Linked DNA regions of Homo sapiens: all the other regions are linked to region 2. Evidence: promoter capture Hi-C in 16 types of primary human blood cells and fetal thymus (Javierre and others, 2016). All regions are on one chromosome and are shown on one strand. Each heading gives the region's core, a stretch centred on a gene start or on the middle of the fragment in contact. The rest is flanking DNA. Distances are from core to core; before and after follow the strand shown.

Region 1 (3,016 bases), core at 261-2,760, 200 kb after region 2:
TCAGTAAAATCTACGATACTGGTCTTTCATCTTAGGGTAGGGAGGGACATGGACATGGATGGACACACACACACACACACACACACACACACCCACAAGCTCTATGCCCTCGTGGCATTCTCTCCCAGCATGAGAGCATGTGTCATGCTGGATGCTGTAGCTTACCATATAAGCCCATGTTCTTGGCATATGATTGGCAGAGGCAAACATTAATGCCCTGTTCGATGAAGTGGCGCACAGCCCAGGCATCCTTATCACCATCACCACTGGCAAAGCCTTGGTAGGCCATGTCAAAGAACGCAAAGAGATTCCTTTTCTGAGAAGGAACGAAAGATCGAAGCTTTAGCAGTCTTTCTGAAGAGGCCCCAGATGTTTATAAAAGTCTGAAAGATGTTTATGTGAGGTGGGCATGGTCCCAATAAGCACAATAAGCCTTTTCTGGGGCTAACGTAATCCTGGAAGACTCAACTTATACCCAGGACTCACGAGACAACATCATTAGAACCATTTTATCTTGAAAGTGCTCTCCAAATGCTGTTTCTGTCTCATTCTGTTTGCAGCTTAGATTTGACAGAAGTTAAAGAAAGGGAAACTGGCCAGGCATGGTGGCCCATGTCTATAATCCCAGCACTTTGGGAGGCCAAGGTGGGAGGATCACTTGAGCCCAGGAGTTTGAGATCAGCCTGGGCAACAAAGTGAGATGCTGTCTCTGTGAAAAATAGGAAGAATTAGCCAGGCAGGTGTGGCACACATGTCTGTAGTCCCAGCTACTCAGGGGCTGAGGTAGGAGGATTGTTTGAGCCCTGGAGGTAGAGGCTGCTGTGAGCTGTGACTGTGCCACTGCGTTCTGGCTTAAGGCGACAGAGTGAGACTCTGTCTCAAAAGAAAAAAAAAGAGAGAGAGAGAAAAGAAAGGGAAATGAAAAGGAGTGAAAAGGGAAAACAGGGACATGAGACAACAGGAATAACATTTTCCTCCCTAGGAATTTTGACTAGTGTCTTCTCTGACAGCTGGCTACACTTTGAGAGTGATCATGGCAATGCTGCAAAGGAGAGGACATGAAAAAGTGTTTAAAAAGATCAATAAGCAACCACTGACCAGGGCGAATATAGGCATCAACAGCAGACATCCTGGGGCCAGTGGACAGGTTTTATCAGAGTTCCCTACATCCAGGATGAGGAAAAAAATTATTTTCTTTTTTTCTTTTTTAGAGACAGAGTTTTGCTCTTGTTGCCCAGGCTGGAGTGCAGTGGCACAATCTCGGCTCACCACAATCTCCACCTCCTGGGTTCAAGTGATTCTCCTGCCTCAGCCTCCCAAGTAGCTAGGATTACAGGCATGGGCCACTACGCCCAGCTAATTTTGTAGTTTTAGTAGAGACGGGGTTTCACCATGTTGGCCAGGCTGGTCTCGAACTGACCTCAGGTGATCCACCTGCCTCGACCTCCCAAAGTGCTGGGATTACAGGCGTGAGCCACCGCGCCCAGCCAAAAAAAATTACTTTCAAATACTCATGCGTCATCAATCCCAGAACTGCTAATCACGCAAATGGGGAGCCCTTTTCTGGCAGCTTATCCACCTGTGTGGACATTTCACGCAGGTTCGAGGTTAAGACTCTCTGTTGAGACATTGCCAAATTAAGCCTCCAAAGCTGGTTACTAAACACAGAACTGTCGCCAGTGAGTTCATCGTCCTCACCTTCACCACTGTTGCTATTTCCTTCCACTGTTCCGGACGCGGGTCCACTCCCGTGGGATTGTGGGCGCAGGCATGCAGAAGAAGAACACTCTGCTCTGGTATTTTCTAAAGAGAAAAACAGCCAAGAGACGACTTTGCAGCTTTAAAGGAAATGGTTTATCTGAAATGCCACAGGATCGTCATCATTTGATAAGTAACAAAGGTAACCAGAACCCTGGGAATCAGCTCTTCCCCAGTATTTTAACTCAGATATTGGGACATGGTGGGAGACATCAAATGTCCGCAAGCAAGGAGTTTTATTCACCTCTCTCACCCTGAAAGCCACACTTACTGAAATATCCTCCACAGCGCCTGTGAAGTCAAAACCGCAAGTCTTGGGGTCATAATACCGATAACCTTGTAGCTGCATGCCAGCATCCCTGAAGATGGGTGTGTGGTTTCCCCAGGTTGGTTTGGGCAGAAAGACATCTCGGCTGAACTTAAAAAATCTTTGCTAAAAGATGGGACGAAAGGAAACAGAAAAATGAACAAAGGAGAGGCAAAAAAATGTTGATGTGTTTTATTGAGAGAACATTTTTCTCTGCTGAAACCCAGTTTCTCTCTATGGTTGAGAAGCAGTATTGACTCAGCAGTAAGACTGCCTGGGTTGGAATAGTCTCTGACAGTTATACTGGCCATGTAGCCAAGGACCTTTCTGGGTCTTGCTTTCTTCACTTGTAAAGGGGGTTAATTGTACCTCTCTCATAGGGATTAAACAAGTTAAAATGCAAAAGCTCCCTAGTAAATAGTAAGTTCCTAGTGAACTGAATTTATCATCATCACTAATATATCTTTCCTGTAATTTCTTCAAAGTCCTTTCATTTTTTCATGAGAATAGGACATCTGCAAACTTCACGGAAAGAAGAAATCTACTTCTGCATCAACAGTCAAATACACACACAACAGGAAGCCCTGTCATCTGGAATTTATAATTCTTTCCTGAAGAAGCTTCCAGACTCACCAGAAAACTGGCTCCGATCCTTAAGGCTCCAGTTCCAGAAATGGTCTGCACAGTGACAAACTGAAGGAGAGATACCCACGGTCAGTGATGTGCAACACTCTCTATACAGGCCCAGACCCAGGGCCACTGCTTTGTCCAGGACCTTTCATACTTCAGAAGCTCATTCTTTATGGCCTGTCAGTATCATTTCATGTTACACGGGAAACTTTCAGAACACAAAAATTCCTCCTCAATATGAAAAAGGGGTGAATTATATAAAAGATATAAAAAGACACTGAGAGGCTGGGTGCGGTGGCTCATGCCTGTAATCCCAGAACT
Region 2 (2,894 bases), core at 90-2,589:
ATGATTTTACACATACTAAATCTTCACCTATGTATAACCTAAACTAAAATACCGTGTTAGAGGAGCCTCACAAGATTACTCCTGGGCTACAGGCCTCAGTCTATAGTCCTCAATAAGGCTTCTAAATAAAACTAATTTTAATTATTTAAAAGCTTAATATTTTTTCTTTAGTCAACATACCAATCCTTACATTAATTCTACAGAGTAGGTATTATCTTAGTTTCGCAGGTGAGGAGACTAAGGTTCAGGAAAAAGGATTTGCCTGAGTAACAGACCAGGCCGCGCGCGGTGGCTCACGCCTGTAATCCTAGCACTCTGGGAGGCCGAGGCGGGGGGATTGCCTGAGCTCAGGAGTTCGAGACCAGCCTGGGCAACGCGGTGAAACCCCGACTCTACTAAAAATAAACACAAAAAATTAGCTGGGCATGGCAGCGTACGCCTGTAGTCCCAGCTACTTGGGAGGCTGAGGCAGGGGAATTGCTTGAACCCGGGAGGTGGAGGTTGCAGTGAGCCGAGATCGCACCACTGCACTCCAGCCTGGGCGAGACTCCCGTCTCCCCAACGCGCCAAAAAAAAAAAAAAAAAAAAGGAAAAAAAAAAAAAACTGAGTGTTGAGCTGCGGCGTTGCTTGGCTTCAAAACCCATTCCTGTAACCTCTATATTCACAGCCTCATTTTCTTACATTTAACAGCATGCTACTTCCCCAGGTTTAACCACCATTTGTTTTATTCATTTATTTACCCAATAGGTAGATATTGAGTCCCTACTATGTCAGCTAATAAAACCCACCACGTGCTATGCAGCAGATTAAAAACGAGGATGTACTGGCAAATAAGGGCAGAGAGGATCTATTCTAGATCCAGGAGCCCTCTAGGCCACGCCACTCTGAAACACACACGAAAACTGCTCTGAACGAATACCACCAGTAAAAGGGTTCCATGGCCATCGGCAACAAGGGGTCGAGATCAGGAGGTCGCTCGCCGCCCAGTTGCGTCGCTCACCACCGGCCGGCCACCAGACCCTCGGCTTCCGATCCAGAAACCGTATTTTGTTCTTGCACCCAGACCGCAAGAAGCCTCAGCCCTCGGGGACAGACCGAAGGCCAGGGCTGTACCTGGCTCAGAACCAGGCGCCAAGCGGCACGGGACTCTCCTTCTGCACTCGCAGCGCGTGAGTGCAATTGGAGATCCTGGACTCAAGATGTTTTCATGAGGAACGATTCCAGCCCGCGGTAACTCCGGCCAGTCTGCAGCGTGGACGACAAAACAGGCACCACGTGGTTCCGGCGCCGGGGCGGGGCCAGAGACGCCGGAAGTGACCGCGCGGTGCGCCGGCCCGCGAGGAAACGCGCTCTTAGACCATGGCGACCCAGGCGAAGCGTCCACGGGTGAGTGGCGGGCGCGGGGTCCAGCCTTTTCCTCCGCGCCTCACCCCTTCTCCGTTCGCAGAACCGTCCGCCTGCGCCCCCTCCGCTCCCTCCCGCGGGTCCCGCGCCCCTCTCCGCTCGTCCCCTCCTCCACCCAAAGCCCGTTCTGCGCTCGCGCCGCGGTCTCCTGCAGTTCCCAGCGGCCTCTCTGGGGGTCGGACCTGGTCACTGCGCGCACTTATCTCAGGTGGCGGGGCCCGTGGACGGCGGCGACCTGGATCCTGTGGCCTGCTTCCTGAGCTGGTGCCGGCGGGTGGGGCTGGAGCTGAGTCCCAAGGTGAGCGAGCGAGCCGGCGGGCGGAGGACCCGCGGCGGGGCGCGGGCTGCCCTGACCAGCCCTCCTGCTCAGGTGGCGGTCAGCCGGCAGGGCACGGTGGCCGGCTACGGCATGGTGGCCCGGGAGAGCGTGCAGGCCGGAGAGCTGTTGTTCGTGGTGCCGCGGGCCGCGCTCCTGTCGCAGCACACCTGCTCCATCGGCGGCCTGCTGGAGCGAGGTGGGCACGGCGGCGGGCTAGGGCCCTGGGGCGGGGCGGGGCGGGGCGGGGCGGGCCCGGCCCGCGAGGCCGCGCCGGGGCGCTCACACCTGTGTCTTCCTCAGAGCGAGTTGCGCTGCAGAGCCAGTCGGGCTGGGTGCCACTGCTGCTGGCGCTGCTCCACGAGCTGCAGGCCCCGGCCTCACGCTGGAGGCCCTACTTTGCGCTCTGGCCCGAGCTGGGCCGCTTGGAGCACCCGATGTTCTGGTGAGAGCCTTGGGAGGGGTTGGGGAGCGCCTGCACCGTAGCCTGCTGCAAGAAGTTTCCCCGCCCCTGCACCAGTCCTACCCAGTAAAGTGTGTGAAGGAATGAAGGGAACCTGGGTGTGGGTGTCCCTGCAGGCCAGAGGAGGAGCGCCGGTGCCTGCTCCAGGGCACAGGCGTACCTGAGGCCGTGGAGAAGGATTTGGCCAACATCCGCAGCGAGTACCAGTCCATCGTGCTGCCCTTCATGGAAGCCCACCCCGATCTCTTCAGCCTCAGGGTTCGCTCCCTAGAACTCTACCACCAGCTGGTGGCCCTTGTGATGGCCTATAGGTCAGTGGGTGGGGCCTCTGAGGACGGAACCCTTTTCTTTACAACTCTATAGAGGGACAAAAGTGGAAAAACAGTGAAATCCACCCCCAGTCCCTCACCCAAGACAGGGCCTTAGCCAGGTTCTGTCAATGGCAGCTTTCAGGAACCACTGGAGGAAGAAGAGGATGAAAAGGAGCCCAACTCCCCCGTGATGGTGCCTGCTGCAGACATACTAAACCACTTAGCCAATCACAACGCCAATCTAGAATACTCTGCGGTGAGTGGAGTTTCTCTTGGTGCACTGATTGAGCATGATTCAAGCCATTGTGTCTTAGGCTCCATTCTCTTACTAGTGCTACAAAATGAGTAGGTGAAATCAGCTCCTCCTGTATGTCCTTTTAGTATGCATATTACTGTAGA
Region 3 (2,913 bases), core at 95-2,594, 240 kb after region 2:
TCTCTGTAAAATGGACCAATCAGCAGGATGTGGGTGGGGCCAGATAAGAATAAAAGCAGGCTGCCTGAGGTTGCGGTGGTAACATGTTTCGGCGTCCTTCCACACTGTCGCGGCTTATGTTGTTTTGCTGTTTGGGTTTGCACTGTCTTTTTGAGCTGTAACACAGCAAAGGTTTGCAGTTTCGCTCCTGAAATCATCGAGACCACAAACCCACCGGGAAGAACGAACAACTCCAGACGCACCGCTTTAAGAGCTGTAATACTCGTTAGGAAGGTGTGCAGCTTGACTCCTGAGTCAGCGAGACCATGAACCCATCAGAAGGAAAAAACTCCGAACATCAGAAGGAACAAGTTTCAGACACGCCACCTTTAAGAACTGTGATACTCACCGCGAGGGCCCGCGGCTTCATTCTTGAAGTCCGTGAGACCAAGAACCTACCAATTCCGAATACGTTGGGTTCAAGTGGTTCTCCTGCCTCAGACTCCCGAATACCTGGGACTACAGGCACCCACCACGCCCGGGTAATTTTTTGTATCTTTAGTCGAGGTGAGGTTTCACCATGTTGGCTAGGCTCGTCTCAAAATACTGACCTCGTAATCCGCGCCGCCTCAGCCTCACAAAGTGCTGCGATTACCTGCGCCCTACCGCTCCCACCCCAATCGTGTTGAAATTGTGTAGTATAGAATTCTATAAATTTGAAAAAGCTTTTAGAGGTTAGTTGGAGCAGTGCTTCTCATGTTGCACATCACCTTGAGAACTTGTGAAATTGCAGGTCGTGAGTCAGCATGGTGTTGTAGGGTGAGGGGAGTGACTGTGCTGTGTTTTTCGAGACGGGGGCGGGTCTCACTTTGTTGCCCAGGTGGGAGTGCAGTGGTGCAAACAAGGCTCATTGCAGCCTTGATCTCCGGGGCTCAAGCTGGCTGTTGACCTCAGCCTTCTGAGTAGCTGGGACTTCAGGCGTACATCACCACACCCAGCTAGTTTTAGTATTTTTTCGTAAAGATAGGATTTTGCCATGTTGGCCAGGCTAGTCTTGAACTTCTGAGCTCAAGCAATCCACCAACCTTGGCCTTTGAAAGTGCTGGGATTACAGATGTGAACTACAATGCCTGGCTGCTTATGTATTTTTATTTTTTATTTCTTAAAATATTTATTTGAGATGGAGTCTTGCTCTGTTGCTCAGACTGGAGTGCACGGTGGCACGATCTTGGCTCACTGCAACCTCTGCCTCCCAGGTTCAAGAGATTCTGCTGCCTCAGCCTCCCGAGCAGCTGGGATTCTAGGTGCCTGCCAACATGCCTGGCTCACTTTTGTATTTTTAGTGGAGATGGGTTTCACCATCTTGGCCAGGCTGGTGTCGAACTCCTGACCTTAGGCAATCCACCCACCTTGGCCTCTGAAAGTGCTGGGATTACAGGCGTGAGCCACCACATCCGGCCTTCTTTTTTTTTTTTTTTTTTTTTTTTTTGAAACAGGGGTCTTGCTCTGTCACCCAGGCTGGAGAGCAGTGGCACGATCATGGCTCACTGAGGGGATTCAGACAAACCCCAGGCCTGAGCTTGCAGAGTATGGAGAGCAGGGAGAGGGGTGCAGTCATTGACTTCAAAGTCAAGACTTCAGGCTTTACTGGGGAGAGATTCTCTGTGCTCAATAGTAAGGATTTTTTTTTTTTTTTTAGTTTTATTTTTAAATGTTTATTTATTTAGAGGATTGGGTTAGGAAACTGGCTAATTTTTGTATTTTGGTAGAGACGAGGTTTTGCCATGTTGCCCAGGCTGGCCTCGAACTCCTGGGCACAAGTGATCCCTCTCCTTTCCAAAGTGCTGGGATTACAGGCGTGAGCCACTGCACCTGGCCAATAGTTAGGATTTGTGCTCTGCCCTCCTAACCACAATTTGGAGAAACAAACCAGTATACAAATTCACAGCACTTAATTCCTTCAAATAGTTCTGTTTAAATCATGCTGGTGTTAAAGGAAAAACATCAAGCTTTTAAAGAATTAAAGATAGTTTTATTTAGAAGTCTTACTGAGGGCTAGAAACCGAAGCCTACAGCCTGGGAGTGGCCTGTTAGAGATGTCCTATCAGACTGTTCCGGAAGTGCCTACTGCTCGTACACAGGTGGCAGAGGTTCAGTATGTGTAAAATCACATCCAGGCCAGGCACAGTGGCCCATGCCTGTAATTCCAGCACTTTAGGAGGTCGAGGCAGGTGGATCACCTGAGGTCAGGAGTTTGAGACCAGCCTGGCCAACATGGCAAAACCCCATCTCTACTAAAAATACAAACATTAGCTGGATGTGGTGGTGCACTCCTGTAGTCCCAGCTACTTGGGAAGCTGAGGCAGGAGAATCGCTTGAACCCTGGAGGCAGAGGTTGCAGTGAGCCAAGACTGCACTCCAGCCTGGCGACAGAGCACTCCGTCTCAAAAAACAAACAAAACAAAACAACAAAAAAAACTGGTTGTAGCTTACAGAAGCATAACCACTAACTCTACTGGACGTTATCTTAAGTGTAAGAAAAGGCAAGGCAAGGATCATTTACCTTAAAAAAAAAATTTTTTTTGAGAATGGGTCTTGCCATGTTGCCCAGGCTGATCTCTAACTCCTGGTCCCACAATTCTCCTGACTTGGCCTCCCAAAGTATTGGGATTACAGGCATGAGCTACTGCACCTGGCCTCAATTGATCCTTTTAAGGAATGTATTGACTCAGGCGAGGGATGTGGGAGGCTGTGCGCTCTGTCCTCTTCTGACTTCAAGACATTCTTCCTGAGAGCTGTATTTTATCAGAGTCGGGGGTTCAAACAGAAATGAGCAAATACGGCCTCTTAGCACTTGCTGCTATGTCTCACACTAAGCACCTGAAAGAGCCGTGAAAGTAAGAAGAAACTTTAACTTCAAACTGGAAGCTATTC
Region 4 (2,968 bases), core at 408-2,907, 220 kb before region 2:
GGGACCAGCCCTGCAGTTGGGGGTTGTAGTTTGCAAAAGAGCAGTATTCTCCTGGAAGGACAGGGCAGGGGCTGGGAGTGAAGAGGCAGGCCTCTTGCTCACCCCTGTACCCAGAGGGCCTTATTTTCCTAACCACACTCCCACCCTAAGGATTGGCCCTGACTTTAGTTTCCTCCATCCACGTCCCATGATTCACTTCTTTGCCTGGTTCCTGCCACCAATGCAGGCCGCCCGGTGCAAAGTGCCGTGAGTCATCTTCCCTGAGCCCCTCCTTGGACATTAAGGACCACTTCATCTTCCCGGATGATCCCCTTCTGTGCCACGTGTGCAGCTAAAGTCAGAGGGAGGAAAGCAGCACACTCACTGGTGGAAGAATAGAGAAGGCCGAGCAGCACCAGGAGCACCCCTCGCATCTTGCCATCCCCAGAGAGACCCGCCGCGGACACCATGGGCAGCTGGGGAAACAAAACCCAATGACTCCATCCTCTTCCCAAACACATGCAGGGTTTTCTATGCCTCTTTTTTCCATCCTCTTCCCAAACACACATGTTCCCTCCCAAACATCAGAGGCTCCCCCTCTTTCTACTAACAAAGGTTCCAAGATGTAGGGCACTGACCTGTCTTATCCCTAGTGCTTGGTTCTGTGTGGTAAAGAGGCAGGACCAGTTGGCCCGCACTGTGGTTTGTGAGATGGCCAGAGAAGAGAGGGCAGCTTACTCTTGTCAGTTTTCTTCTCAATCCAGCCCAAGCCCCTGAGCACCCCAGAGAGTTGGGTCTCTGAAAAGGGCTGCTTTTTGACTCGTGGAATTCAACCCTTGCCTTAACTCTGTAGCCATAAAATGCTGCTGAAAGAAAAGTAGAGTTTTAGTGGAAGCCCACCCTGGGATTAATGCCTCTGCTGTGGTTTTACCCTTCTAAACTCTGCTGGCTAAAAGAACGCTAGGGCTTCTGTTAACTGTTAACAGCCTGTTTTTTTGTTTTTTATTTTATTTTATTTTTTTTGAGACTGAGTCTCGCTCCCTTGGCAGGCTGGAGTGCAGTGGCACGAGCTTGGCTCACTGCAACCTCTGCCTCCCAGGTTCAAGCGATTTTCCTGCCTCAGCTTCCTGAGTAGCTGGGACTACAGATGTGCGCCACCACGCCCAGCTAATTTTTGTATTATTTTGTAATATTTTGTAATATTTGTATTTTTAGTACAGATGGGGTTTCGTCACGTTGGCCAGGCTGGTCTCGAACTCCTGACCTCAGGTGATCCACCCGCCTCAGTCTCCCAAAGTGCTGGGATTACCAGCGTGAGCCACCGTGCCCGGCCAATAGCCTGTATCTTTACATAGGAACAGCCCCAGCATTTAGCTTAGTTCATTTGCAAAACCGCGGTAGGAAGTAGACACTCGAGTTATCGCCATTTTACAGATTCAGAAACTGATACTCAGAGACATCAACTAGCCAGTCCAAGGTCACACAGCTGTCAAGCAATGCACAGAAGCCCAAGGAACCCATGTGCACAGTTCTAAGTCACCATGTTCCACTCATGACACTGGATGCCTCTTGTCCTCAGAATGGTCCTCAGAGTTCGTCCATGAACTGTTCCTGCTCAAGGAGAAATGAACTCAGGCTGGCCTGACACAGTAGAGTTCAACAGAAGGATTTCTTCTACTGCCTTGGGAAGAATGTTCCATTGTGGCATCACGGTTACCATGGCACCACCAAGCAACTGTCTGGACATGGGGACTTACGAGGAGCTAGGATGAAAGGCCTCCTTGTTGCTTAGCCTTGGCAGGGCTCTTCTGGAAGCCAGGCTCTCTCCTAGTCTGAGAAGGCAAGCTTTTTGCTGGATTACAAAGTCTTCTCTGGTCGTGGCCACGGTCTGTCTACCCCACTCAGCGCCCGCCCTGTGTCCACACATGCTTGTCAGACTGGACTGAGGAAGCCCACAACTGGGGTGGGTTTGGAATTTCCAGTCCCCGTCAGCATCTTACACTCCCAGGGTGGTTTCTTTCAGACTTAGCCCAGTTTTCTTTAGCCTCTCAGTTTCCGGGTCCAATCTAAGCTACCAGACCAGCTCTGCCAAACCAGAGGCCCAGATGGGATCTGCCACTCCAGCCACTGTGAGCAGCTTTGGTTTCAGCCCAAATGCCAGGACTCGAGAAGTGTCGACAAGGTTGAGGTAAGATGTTAATTCCACGGAGCCACAGGGGGAGGGTGGGCGCACAGGCCTCTGGTGCAGACGCTCAGAAGATCCTTACTGGATGGGTAGATGAATGGCTGATGGAAGGCAGGAAGGCTGGTGAGAAAGTGGAAACTGGCTGGGCACGGTGGCTCACGCCTATAATCCCAGCACTTTGCGAAGCCGAGGCAGGCAAATTGCTTGAGCTCAGGAGTTTGAGGCCAGACTGGGTAACATGGTGAGACCCTGTCTTTTACCAAAAATACAAAAATTTAGCCAGGCGTGGTGGCACACACCTATAGTCCCAGGTACTCGGGAAGCTGAGGTGGAGGTTGCAGTGAGCTGAGATCGCACCACTGCACTACAGCTTGGGCGACAGAGTGACAGCCTGTCTCAAAATAATAATAATAATAATAAAGTGAGGCCTGAGTCCAAAGGGAGCCGCTACCTCCTTCCCCCATGGTTCCCCTGATGTCCTGCCGGCTTCACCACCCTCCCTCACCTTTAACCCTGGGCAGGGGGGCGGGGGTATTGGCTTCTGCTACAAGAACAGAAAATTTTTGGCAGTGGGAGAAGTGCGAGTTGATTCTTTAATTTGTTCCACATCACAGGTATCAAAAAGCTGTATTTTAAATTTTTATTTTTTATTGTTTTTAGAGACAAGTTCTTGCTCTGTTGTCCAGGCTAGAGTACAGTGGTGCAATCACAGCTCACTGCAGCCTCGAACTCCTGGGCTCAAGTGATCCTCCAGCCTCAGCCTCCCAAGTAGCTGGAACTACAGGCCTGTGCCACCAAGTCTGG

Evidence for each region. The method cuts DNA at HindIII sites, captures the fragments that hold promoters and counts their contacts. A CHiCAGO score of 5 or more calls a contact.
Region 1: a contact is called between a fragment that was not itself captured here and the fragment with the promoter of SETD6 in region 2, in 2 of 17 cell types (M2 macrophages and total CD4 T cells). The highest score is 6.4, in M2 macrophages.
Region 3: a contact is called between a fragment that was not itself captured here and the fragment with the promoter of SETD6 in region 2, in 1 of 17 cell types (total CD4 T cells). The highest score is 6.3, in total CD4 T cells.
Region 4: the fragment with the promoter of PRSS54 here is called in contact with the fragment with the promoter of SETD6 in region 2 in 2 of 17 cell types (M0 macrophages and M2 macrophages); the score reaches 6.4 in M0 macrophages.

The regions. Positions count from the first base shown.
Region 1 is chr16:58,716,498-58,719,513 of GRCh38, forward strand. GOT2 (glutamic-oxaloacetic transaminase 2) reads right to left here. Exons shown (of 10, transcript NM_002080.4): 4 at 2,699-2,758; 5 at 2,030-2,191; 6 at 1,699-1,803; 7 at 166-316. Among named protein-coding and RNA genes, the nearest start is that of GOT2, 16 kb to the right of the region's middle. RefSeq lists an enhancer at 1,558-2,757. The HindIII fragment of the contact is 2,345 bases long and covers 339-2,683 here.
Region 2 is chr16:58,514,178-58,517,071 of GRCh38, forward strand. SETD6 (SET domain containing 6, protein lysine methyltransferase) reads left to right here and starts at 1,340. Exons shown (of 8, transcript NM_001160305.4): 1 at 1,340-1,387; 2 at 1,614-1,920; 3 at 2,025-2,166; 4 at 2,301-2,495; 5 at 2,631-2,751. The coding sequence starts at 1,361. It also overlaps a transcript of NDRG4 not described here. RefSeq lists enhancers at 1,015-1,184, 2,225-2,394 and a silencer at 1,305-1,964. The HindIII fragment of the contact is 14,988 bases long and covers 151-2,894 here.
Region 3 is chr16:58,749,593-58,752,505 of GRCh38, forward strand. It overlaps LOC107984867 (a long non-coding RNA gene), which reads left to right and starts at 78. Exons shown (of 3, transcript XR_001752227.2): 1 at 78-521. The HindIII fragment of the contact is 1,284 bases long and covers 703-1,986 here.
Region 4 is chr16:58,293,368-58,296,335 of GRCh38, forward strand. PRSS54 (serine protease 54) reads right to left here and starts at 1,658. Exons shown (of 7, transcript NM_001305173.2): 1 at 1,520-1,658; 2 at 618-842; 3 at 365-455. The coding sequence starts at 449. The HindIII fragment of the contact is 4,073 bases long and covers 1-1,822 here.